Regions from separate parts of the Homo sapiens genome. Here region 2 is linked to region 1. The links are contacts of gene promoters, found by promoter capture Hi-C in human tissues and cell types (Jung and others, 2019). All regions are on one chromosome and are shown on one strand. Each heading gives the region's core, a stretch centred on a gene start or on the middle of the fragment in contact. The rest is flanking DNA. Distances are from core to core; before and after follow the strand shown.

Evidence for each region. Contacts are between HindIII fragments. The study calls those that stand out against the background at their distance.
Region 2: the fragment with the promoter of POLG here is called in contact with the fragment with the promoter of TTLL13 in region 1 in 1 of the 25 tissues and cell types used here (stomach).

Annotation. Positions count from the first base shown.
Region 1 is chr15:90,246,548-90,252,276 of GRCh38, forward strand. TTLL13 (tubulin tyrosine ligase like 13) reads left to right here and starts at 3,009. Exons shown (of 15, transcript NM_001396017.1): 1 at 3,009-3,261; 2 at 4,073-4,340; 3 at 5,007-5,047. The coding sequence starts at 4,084. It also overlaps a transcript of CIB1 not described here. The HindIII fragment of the contact is 10,980 bases long and covers 1-5,729 here.
Region 2 is chr15:89,333,574-89,339,302 of GRCh38, forward strand. POLG (DNA polymerase gamma, catalytic subunit) reads right to left here and starts at 1,251. Exons shown (of 23, transcript NM_002693.3): 1 at 1,100-1,251; 2 at 1-340. The coding sequence starts at 181. POLGARF (POLG alternative reading frame) reads right to left here and starts at 236. Exons shown (of 2, transcript NM_001430120.1): 1 at 1-236. The coding sequence starts at 236. It overlaps POLG-DT (POLG divergent transcript), which reads left to right and starts at 914. Exons shown (of 2, transcript NR_186332.1): 1 at 914-1,281; 2 at 1,614-2,588. TRR-TCG1-1 (tRNA-Arg (anticodon TCG) 1-1) reads left to right here and starts at 1,500; the gene lies at 1,500-1,572. RefSeq lists enhancers at 519-1,020, 1,890-1,989, 2,000-2,069, 2,410-2,459 and silencers at 710-1,309, 3,267-3,436. The HindIII fragment of the contact is 12,446 bases long and covers 1-5,729 here.

The DNA of each region.
Region 1 (5,729 bases), core at 1,759-4,258:
GGAGACCCAAGCAGGTGGATCACCTGAGGTCAAGAGTTTGAGACCAGCCTGACCAACATGGTGAAACCCCATCTCTCTGAAAATACAAAAATTAGCCCCGTGTGGTGGCAGATGCCTGTAATCCCAGCTACTCAGGAGGCTGACGCAGGAGAATCACTTGAACCCGGGAGGCAGAGGGTGCAGTGACCCGAGATTGAGCCATTGCACTCCAGCCTGGGCAACAGAGTGAGACTCTGTCTCAAAAAAAAAAAAAAAAAAAAAAAAAAAAAAAAAAAAAAAAAAATTGCTGAATTGTGGCAATTCAGGCAAGAAATGGTGGTCGAGGTCCTAGAATAGTCCCTAGAACACTAAATTGTTTGTTGATGCAATGAGTGTCCTGGAAGTCAAGGGACTGCAGAACATTTCCAGGAGGACCATTTCTTTCTTTCCTTTTTTTTTTTTCTTTTGAGACGGAGTCTCACTGTGTCATCCAGGCTGGAGTGCAGTGGCACGATCTTGGCTCACTGCAACCTCTGCGTCCTGGATTCAAGCAATTCTCCTGCCTAGGCCTCCTGAATAGCTGAGACTACAGGCGTGCGCCACCATGCCCAGCTAATTTTTGTATTTTTAGTAGAGACAGGGTTTCACCATATTGGCCAGGCTGGTCTCGAACTCCTGACCTCGTGATCCACCTGCCTCAGCCTCCCAAAGTGCTGGGATTACAGCCATGAGTCACCACACTGGCCTTTTTTTTCTTTTCTTTTCTTTTTTCTTTTTTTTTTTTTTTTAAGAGAGAGAGTCTCGCTGTATTGCCCAGCCTGGTCTCAAACTCCTGGCCTCCAGTAATCCTCCTGCCTCAGCTTCCCAAGGTGCTGGGATTAGCGATGTAGGCTGCCACTCCTAGCCAGGAGGAGAGTTTCATATGAGAGTATCATATGCTGAGGAAAGATCAAGAAGTCTGTGAATCGGGCAGCCCATTTCTCCATCAGCCAGGAAGGACATTGGTGTTGAGGTTGACATACCTATCAAGGACAATAACTACCATGGCTTCCAGTGTTTTGATGAAACCTCAGATGCATGACCTCTGGTTTCACATTGCTGTATCCCTGTATAGAGGGTTGTAGCACTCTATACATTTGCTGTGGCTGAACCGGGAAAGAAGGCATATGCAGATTTCTAGAGAAATTATAATTCCATCAAAGATTTTTTTGTTTGCTTTTTTTTTTTGAGACAGAGACTCCCTCTGTCGCCCAGGCTGGAGTGCAGTGGCGCGATCTCCGTTCACTGCAAGCTCCGGATTCACACCATTCTCCTGCCTCAGCCTTCCAAGTAGCTGGGACTACAGGCGCCCGCCACCATGCCCAGCTAATTTTTATTTTTTTATTTTTTTATTTTTAGTAGAGAGGGGGTTTCACCGTGTTAGCCAGGATGGTCTTGATCTCGTGACCTGGTGATCCGCCCACCTTGGCCTCCCAAAGTGCTGGGATTACAGGCGTGAGCCATCACACCCGGCCAGATATTTGTTTTTTTAAATACGAGTTCTCACTCTGTCACCCAAGCTGAAGTGCAGTGGCATAATCATAGCTCACGGCATCCTCTTAACTCCCATGCTCAAGAGATCCTCACACCTCAGTCTTCCTAGTAGCTGGGACTACAGGGCCTGCCACCTAGCCTTGCTGATTCTATGAAAGATTTTGAGGAGATGAGGAAGGCTGGTATCTTTCAAAGTGCAAAGTGATTTTGGTATAAACAGTTTCTTTGGGTTGCATTACATAGAAGTTTATCACTAACCTATGTTCCTGAACTATGAAACATGAATATGTGGGCAAAGAAATAGCTTATCTTTATAGACAATTAACAACAACAAAAACAGTCTATGAATTAGAGAATGTCCATGCCTTTTTTAGGCCGAGTTCAGTGGTTCATGCCTGTAATCCCACCACTTTGGGAAGCCAAGGTGGGCAGGTCACTTGAGGTCAGGAGTTCAAGATCAGCCTGGCCAACACAGCAAAACCCCATCTCTACAAAAAATACAAAAATTAGCCAGGCATGGTGGTGCGCACCTGTAGCCCCAGCTACTTGGGACGCTGAAGTGGGAGGATTGCTTGAGCCTGGGAAGCTAAGTAAAGTTGCAGTGAGCTGCGATCACACCACTGCAATCCAGCCTGGGCTACAAAGCAAGACCCTGTCTCAAAAAAAAAAAAAAAAAAAAAAAAAAAAAAAAAAAAAAAAGTCCATGTCTTTTTAAAAGGATGGAAACATTTTAAGTGTTCTCTAGATTTAGCCACACAGTATAATTTTAGGGTGACAAGTTGAGCTGAGTTGGGTGGAGGTGGTGAGCAGAAATCAAAGTGGGTGGATGTCAGGAAGAGAAGGTGACAGTGAAGGAGCACTGTGATAAGGCGGTTTGGTTATTCCTTAATGGAGCTGTCTCAGTCCACCAGAGGCAAAGCCTTGAAAGGCACGTGGCCTTACCATGGCTGTCACTCTTGAATGCATAGGCTTTGCTAGCTAAACTTAGAGTTACTAAAGAATTGAGCCCGGCGTGGTGGCACGCTCCTGTAGTCACAGCTACTGGGGAGGCTGAGGCAGGAGGATTGCTTGAGCCCAGGAGGTCCAGGCTGCAGTGAGCTATGATGGTGCATTCCACTGCACTCCAGCCTGGGCGACACAGCAAGACCCCGTCTCAAAAAAAAAAAAAAAAAAAAAAAGGGAGAATTGAGGAGAGGCAAACAGCTATTTGTCCTCATTATATGCTTGGCCAAATTCCTTGGCCCGGGGTTTAGGGAAAGATGGGAGTGCGGCGAGAACTGGCTTCGAAGCGGGAGGGCTGCAAGTCCCATGATACACCGGAAGAATCTGGCGTCGAGGCCGGCCAGCTCCAAAGGGCAAACGCTGTCTCCCCCACCCAAGGTAGCCTCGGCCCGCGCCCAAGTGGGTGTGGCTGCGGGAAAGCCCCGCCCCCAGGACGCTTCTCCAATGGGAACTGCCCTCGTGTCCATGGCAACGGCGGCGGCCACGGGCTTGCTAGAGGAAGCGCTGCCCCGGCAGCCGCAGCCACGGCCACCGGGAGCTAGGAGTGAACCCCTGCGGGGGAGCAGCTTCCCCCTCGCGATCGTGGGGACAGCCAGTCCTGTGAAACGAGGAGGCGGTTCCGGACGCCCAGAAACGCCCAGGGAGACCTGGAGCCGGGGGAAGAGGGGACATGAGCGGCCAGCTGAGTCCATCCCCAGGCGGCTAGGGGCGGACCCAGCAGCCCCTCAGCTCTCCTCGTAACCACGGGTGGGCAGTCTCCACCGTCACAGCCCAAAGGGTCTTAGCCATCGGGTGCCTGTCCCTAGTGTGTACACGTGCAGAAAATGAGTCCTGGGAGAGGGAAAGGGCCAGCGTAGGGGGCTTTTGGTCTTCAGCTGTATTTTATTTTATTTATTTATTTATTTATTTATTTAGAGACAGACTCTTGCTCTGTCGCCCAGGCTGGAGTGCAGTGGTGTGATCTCGGCTCACTGCAACCTCCACCTCCCAGGTTCAAGTGATTCTCCTCCCTCAGCCTCCCGAGTAGCTGGGATTACAGGCAACGCACCAGCACACCCAGCTAATTTTTGTATTTTTAGGAGAGACGGGATTTCACCGTGCTAGCCAGGCTGCTCTCCAACTCCAGACCTCAAGTGATCTGCCCGCCTCAGCCTCCCAACGTGCTGGGCCGATTCAGCTGTATTTTAAAGCGAAGGTCCCCCCAGCACTCACAGCCATCCTCTTTCCCAATTAGGAACAAAAGAGCCATGGTCATGGCCCATACCATCTGTGTCCAACTCCTGAAGGCACCCCTGTGCGTTGTATGATCCAGTGTGAACCTGGATGATTGGGGCTTGTCATCAGGGAATCCACATCTCACTGGTGTCTTCCACCCCCATGCACCTCCACCTACCTGGACACATCCCATTCCTCAGTGAAACAGTTTTGTCCTGAAGGGGCAGCAACTTTCCCTTATAACAGCATGAAGGTCGTTCTGGTGGATTCCTTCAGGCCTTCTAGGGCCTGAGGGAGGTCTGAGGTCTGATATACACTTCATTCCCACCCCGCAACCCCTCAGAATCTGAGAGAATGGAGCCGAGTACCTGTAGGACCATGGAATCAGAGGAAGACTATGTTGAGGAAAAGGAATCTGAGAAGTGTGTTAAAGAGGGAGTTACCAACCCCTCTAACTCTTCACAGCAGGCTCTCTTAAAAGCTGACTATAAGGCATTAAAAAATGGGGTTCCCTCACCCATTATGGCCACAAAAATTCCGAAGAAAGTCATAGCCCCAGTTGACACAGGCGACTTAGAAGCTGGGAGGAGGAAGAGAAGGCGGAAACGCAGGTAACTATTCCCTAGATCCCCTCAACTGCCCAGCTCCAGGGAGTCACCCATTGGCCTCCCTTCAACATCTGGAGGAGCTGGGATCTCAGATCTTCCCTTTAGCCTACAAAAGAGGACAGGAAATGCTGGAGTGTCATTAACCCTTTGATACAACAGAAACAAAATTCAGAACCATTTAGGCTGGCTCATTTTGGAATCCCAGCCTGTTTATGTCATCCTGGTCTGTCTTTTTTTTTTTTTTTTTGAGACAGAGTCTCGCTCTGTCGCCCAGGCTGGAGTACAGTGGCGTGATCTCGGCTCACGGCAAGCTCCGCCTCCCGGGTTCAGGCCATTCTCCTGCCTCAGCCTCCCGAGTAGCTGGGACTACAGGCACCTGCCACCACGCATGGCAAATTTTTTTTTTTTTTTTTGTATTTTTAGTAGAGACAGGGTTTCATTGTGTTAGCCAGGATGGTCTCTATCTCCTGACCTTGTGATCCACCCGCCTCGGCCTCCCAAAGTGCTGGGATTACAGGCATGAGCCACCGCGCCCAGCCCATCCTGGTCTGTCTTTTAAGTGGCTTCTAGAGAAAAGGAATTGTGTTGTGAATTTGTTGGATGTCTTTTCATCTGAGTACCTGTCCTTCCCTCCCACTCTTCCTGATTTATGCTATTCCTCCATTCCAGATCACTGGCCATCAACCTGACCAACTGCAAGTATGAGAGTGGTAAGCACCCAGCCCGTCGCTCACACTGTGGTGCATAACATGGTGCCTACAGCTGCTGTTCTTCCTCTGGAATGGACCCCCGATCAGGCTTCCAGCCCCTGGGGCCTGGCGGGCTTGCCTCTAACCTGTACTGAGCTTCCTAGGTGTCCTCTGCCTCAGACACTGGAAGCTGAGACATTGCCATTCCAGGTAGTCTCAGTGTTAGGGAGGGTATCCTCACAGTAAACAAGAAAAAAAAAAAAAAAAGTCCAAGAGCCACTACTGCCCCACCCTTCCCAGATTTTATTTATTTATTTTTGAGACAGAGTCTCGCTTTGTCATCCAGGCTGGAGTGCAGTATTGCAATCATAGCTTAATGCAGCCTTGAACTCCCGAGCTCAAGCCGTCTTCCTATCTGAGCTTCCCAGTAGCTGGGACTACAGGCCTGCACCACTATGCTCACCTAATTCTTTTTTTTTTTTTGAGACCGAGTTTTGCTCTTGTTGCCCAGGCTGGAATGCAATGGCGTGATCTCGACTCACTGCAACCTCCACCACCCAGGTTCAAGCGATTCTCCTGCCTCAGCCTCCCAAATAGCTGGGATTACAGGCATGTGCCACCACATCTGGCTAATTTTGTACTTTTAGTAGACAGAGTTTCTCCATGTTGGCCAGGCTGGTCTTGAACTCCTGACCTCAGGTGA
Region 2 (5,729 bases), core at 1-2,500, 910 kb before region 1:
CTTGCGGCTGCTGAGGCTGCTGTTGCTGCTGCTGCTGCTGCTGCTGCTGCTGCTGCCGCCGCCGCTGCCCGTCGCTGGGGTCGGACGCGGGGACGGAGCTGGAGACCCAGCGCCCCGGAGCTGGAACCGGCCCTGGCCCGACGGTGGCGCCGGCCACCTTCCTCCAGAGCAGGCGGCTCATGGTTGGTGCAGGGACCCCCACGCTGGGAGTCAGAACACCTGGCTTTGGGCTCCAGCTTGGCTTCTTTTACTGGCTGGAAGACGTGGAGAGAGACACGTCCTGTCTCTGCTCTCCTGTCAGTGAAATGGGTTTGACCATGCCTGCCTTCCACCCCAAATCCTAAAGGAGACAGATGATATAAAGCGTTATTTTACCATATATGTAATAGGTGTATCCATAATCATCATTCCTTGAGCATTTACTGCGTCCCCAACACTGTGCCAGGCGCTTCAGTTGCATTTTCCGTTAAGCCTCAAAACTTGGGAAACGTCAATACCCCTCCTGGGGGAACCGGGGTCCACGCAACTTCGTCAGTGAACCCACGTGGGGAAGCCGAGGGCAGCGAGTAAGAGAGCAGTATCTGGAGTAGGGCGACGCGGTTTTGAACCCCGCTTCTGGCTCTCTCGAGCTGTGTGACCTTGGGCAAAGCTCCTTAGGCCCTGATATCCTATTCTGTAAAATGGGATTACGGATTCTGCCTGTCACACCGGGCTGCTGTCTGGGGGACACAGGGCGCCTATGTCGTGCGGCCCTGCTCTTGGCAAGCGCTCGGCAAATGGTGGCTGCCATTACCGCGACCGGCGCGGGCCTAGCGTCGAGAGGTGCCAGCGCCCGGATTCGAACCCGCAGGGTGGGCCGCCGTCCCCCGGGACCCACACCCACACCCGGACCACGGCCCACCCGGCCGAGAGCGTCCTGCAGGAGGAGTCGGCGGCCACCCCCGTGCGCCCCGCCGCCCGCCTGCGCCCGGCAGAGGCGCCGCGGTGCGCCCTGGGACTAGCCGCCGCCCTGCTCCGGGCCTCGCTCCCTGACTGGAGAGGGAGGGGCCGCGCCGTCGCTCAGCGACCCGGCCTCCCCGCCGCCGACCCCGCCGGAAACCTCGGTCCTCACGGTGCTTCCCGGTCTGCTGCTCCCCCGACCCCAGGCCCACGGCACGGCGTCCCCCTTCGCGCGGCCTACGCAGCCTCGGGGTAGCGTGTGGCCTCCACCCGGCCGGTCCGCTTCGCTGGCAGCCGCAACTTCCCGTCTGCACCCAGCTAGGTCCCGCGGCTACCCGAGAGGCAAGCGGGAGACTCCCAGCGCGACCAATAGGAGGGCCGCCAATGGAGCGGTCCGCCCGCGGGGGGAGAAGGGGGACTTCTGGGTGGGCTCTCCCTGCGGAACGCGCGAACCAAAGGCCAACCTCCCCTTCTCAAGGAGCAGGTGGATTGGTCCCGAGCTAGCTGGTGGGCGGAGGTGACGTTTTTATAAGTTGCTCAAGAGACGGTAACAACCGACGGGCCGCGTGGCCTAATGGATAAGGCGTCTGACTTCGGATCAGAAGATTGCAGGTTCGAGTCCTGCCGCGGTCGAAGGGAGGTTATGATTAACTTTTAGTTTATTCCTCCCTCAGGAACGAAGTATTGGGACAATGTGAACGTAGTCGCCGCCGATTCCCACCGCACTTCAAAGATGTGGGAACGCCAAGATCCGCGGAAGTAACCACGCCCAGCAAGTCCCTGCGAGATTGCCCGCCTACGTGTCTCAGCGGAGGCACATTTCTAAAATGTACCAGGTCTCTCGCACCCCGACGCAGGTGGAGGAAAGTGGAGAGGGAGGGGCATCCTGTACAGAAATCTCAATTTATACTCAATTGATGGTTGGCAAGAGTTGGGGCTCGCAGCCAAAGCGAGGCTCCCTCCCTCGCCCATCCGGTGCTGCCTCCTCGTCCAGAGCAATTCTGAGGGGTAAAAATGTTGCCTTCCGTTGAACCTGAATTTGCCCGCAGATGCTAGCCTCCGGCCCACAGCGCGGCTGGAGCTTGTCCCCTTCCCCAGCTGTTTCCAGTCTCCGCATCCGTCTTGTGTTGCTCCAGGTGCTTCAACAGCTCTCAGCGCTCGGTGGTTGGTGAACTGTGGTAAAGTGCACGCAGAATAAGGTCTACGTGATTAAGCACCGCCTGGGGGTTGGGGTCTGGAGGCCCAGCTGCACAGATGAAAGGGAGGCTCAGAGACGTTTGGGACCAACCGAGATCACACAGCTGATTAGGAATAAAATTCAGGTCAAGCTGAAAGTCGGCCGCCACCGTCCAGCGTGGATCCCAGGACACCGTGAACGGACTACAGAAGTTGACTTTCGCGTTTTTAAGGAGTGGGGTGCAGGGAAACAATCCTCCGCCGGCCCTGCGGGCTGATGCCGACCCTCACCTGCTCCCGCCACGTGGAGAGGTAGAGAGAAGCCCCGGGCCAAGCAGCATTGAGCCCTGGTCCCTTCTATTTAAATATGAAATATTTTGCATACACTTTTCTAGATGTACTTAATATACACAATGTTTTAATGTTTGTGATTTTTTTGTTTTGCCAAAAAAATACAATCAATCAGAAATTCATCTGTTTTTTTTTTTTTTTTCACATAACTGTTGACTTTTACAAAATACTGGAAGGAGAGGCTCTCAGCTTAAATCAGGGAGTCCCTGAATGGGGAAAACATTTTCATCTTGTTTCTTCTAACCGCCTACTGATACTTGGCATTTCCTCCAATTATGAGCATAGGCTGTCAGCCACAGTGGTATTAACAGTGCCTGTGACTTTGTCCCCTCCAGCAACCACAGATATTTTCATAACGCATTACAAGTGCTGCACATTTTTCAAAATTTGTTTGCACTTATCTGTACTTCAAAATAACAGGGGTTACTAGACTGCCACTAGATCCTGTTAGTTAATAAGTTTACCTATTTGTCCTAATATTTGAATACCTTTGGTGTCCTTTGTAATCCTTCATGTTTTATGTGCTTAAAAACACTATTCTTCCATATAACCAAAAACTGCCTGTACCCCTATTGAAATAAAAATTAATAAAACATATTTCACAGAAAAAAATTAAAAACAGAAACACTACTCTAGGCCAGGTTCAGTGGCTCACGCCTGTAATCCCAGCACTTTGGGAGGCTGAGGTGGATGGATTGCCTGAGCTCAGGAGTTGAAGACCAGTCTGGCCAACATGGCGAAACCCCATCTCTACCAAAAAAATACAAAACTTAGCCCGGCATGGTGGTGCACGCCTGTAATCCCAGCTACTTGGGAGGTTGAGGGAGGAGAACCTCTTGAACCCGGGGGGCAGAGTCTGCAGTGAGCCGAGATTGCACCATGGCACTCCAGTCTGGGCAGCAGAGTGAGACTCCATCTCCCCACTCCCCACCAAAACAACAACAACAACAAAAAAAAGAAAAAAAAGAAAGAAAGAAACACACTATTCTAAGAAGGTGTCTATGACACAAAAAAGCTAAGAACCCCTGGCCCAACTGTCCACAGGGGCTGCTGTTGCTGGGCCTGATTGGCCTCTCCTGAGATTCAGTCTCAGGAGATGTCCATCAAGATGCCTGCTCCTCCCATAGACTACTTGAGACTAGCCTAGTGCCCTGGTCCTGGAATTAGAATCTTCAACAAGGACAAAAACGGTTGATACTGATTCCTGCTGAGGGAGGGTACCTGGAGGCCTGCACCCTTCCTGCCAGGCTACACCCTGTTTCCAGGCCTTTCTGAACCCAGCTCCTCCACTTCCCCTGCCTCCTTTTCTAGGAACTCCCCCACGTCCTTCTAGAAAAGTCTGTCCTTGATAGTGGTTCCTGAGAAACAGTTACATTTTCCCACAATTCCCTGGACCTCTCCCCCCACAGAGCAAGAGGCAAAGTTCATTAGGACCCCTGTCCTCATCAAAACACTCCGTACTTTTTTTCTTCTTCTTCTTCTGAGACAGAGTCTTGCTCTGTGCCCAGGCTGGAGTGCAGAGGCGTGATCTCAGCTCACTGCAGCCTCCACCTCCCAGGTTCAAGCGATTCTCGTGCCTCAGCCTCCGGAGTAGCTGGGATTACAGGTGTGTGCCACCATGTGGATCTAATTTTTGTATTTTTAGTAGAGACTGGTTTCACCATGTTGGCCAGGCTGGTCTGGAACTCCTGGCCTCAAGTGATCCACCCGCCTTGGCCTCCCAGAGTTCTGGGATTACAGGCTTGAGTCACTGCGCTGGGCCAGAACACCCTGTACTTTCAAAGCATGTACCTCAGTTGTAACTAATGATGATTTTTTAAAAATCTCCCCCTTCCACTGCTGTAAATGCCCATAGGGACTGACCTTGTGTCTTATTTTGAGCTCAATTCCAGGACCTGCCTGGAGCTTGGTAATAACCGGCACTTGCTAGCTGCCAGGTGCTGTTCTAAGGGCTCACATATGTCACTTAAGTGAATCCTCACATCGACCCTTGGATAGAGGTACCGTTATCCCCTTTCACCCATGAGGAAACTAAGGCACAGAGAGGCGAAGCAGCTTGCCTAAAGCCCTATAGCTGGTCATTGGTAGAGCTGGGATTTGAATTCATGGAAACCAGGATCTCAGCAACTGCACTACACGGCAAATACTGGCTTTATGATGCTAGCAGAGGATCCCTACTGCACAACTGTGTGCCAGGCGCTGCACGTGCACACTGATGTGGCCTCCTACATCACTGCTGCTGACTAAGTAAGGGGCCCTCAGGTGACAGCCTGCTCCTCCAGAGTCCCTCTCGTGTGCTTACTTCCTGGTGACTTTCATGGTCTTCTCTCAGGTTTGCCAAGCCCAACTCCAGCAATTTCTGCCACAGACAGAAAATATCACCACTCTTCCTTTATCAACAGCTACCACTTGCAAATGAACCAGGCTGAACGCTTTAGAGCACCATTTTATTTAATCATTTCAATGACCCCATAAAGTAGGTGCTGTTATTATTCATTTTACAGATGAGAGAAGATAGACTCCAGTAAGAAGTGTGAAGTAAGAAGTGTGAAGCATGGTGGCTAATGCCTGCAATCCCAGCACTTTGGGAGGCCAAGGCAGGAAAATAGCTTGAGGCAGGAGTTCAAGACCAACCTGGCCAACACAGCAAGACCCCCATTTCTAAAAAAGATAAAGAATTTTTTTTAAAACTGGCTGGGTGTGGCAGTATGTACCTGTATTCCCAGCTACTCAGGAGGCTGAGATGGGAGGATCACTTGAGCCCAGCAGTTCCAGTCTAGCCTGGGCAATATAGCAAGACCTTCATCTCTAAAAAAAATTAAAAATAAATAAAACTTATAAAAAGAAAAAAATGAGAATGTGACCTTGTGACCTATGTGTGGAATTCAGGATGATAGCCATAGACTGTTTTCAAAACATGCTTCATATTTCGGGGGGAATAATTGGTTCCATCAACTCCACACAGTTTACGAACAGGTCAAAAAGAAATTGATTGAAATGCAAATAATTTTTTCAGGATTGGGAAGCTTCCTGATGGGAAGAAACTGTGCCCTGTCATCTGTATGTCTGGCACACAGAGACAGACGTCTGTCATTCTTGTCCCCATCCCATTTTGTCCCTCCTTAGCTCCTGACCAAGGCTCCTGGCTCAGGGAGTTAGGGACAAGGCTTATTAACTAAGTTGAGCCAATCAGGACACTCCACCAAAAAAATTAACGGCATTGCCTTCATATCATCAAATATCCAGTCAATGTTGAAATTGCC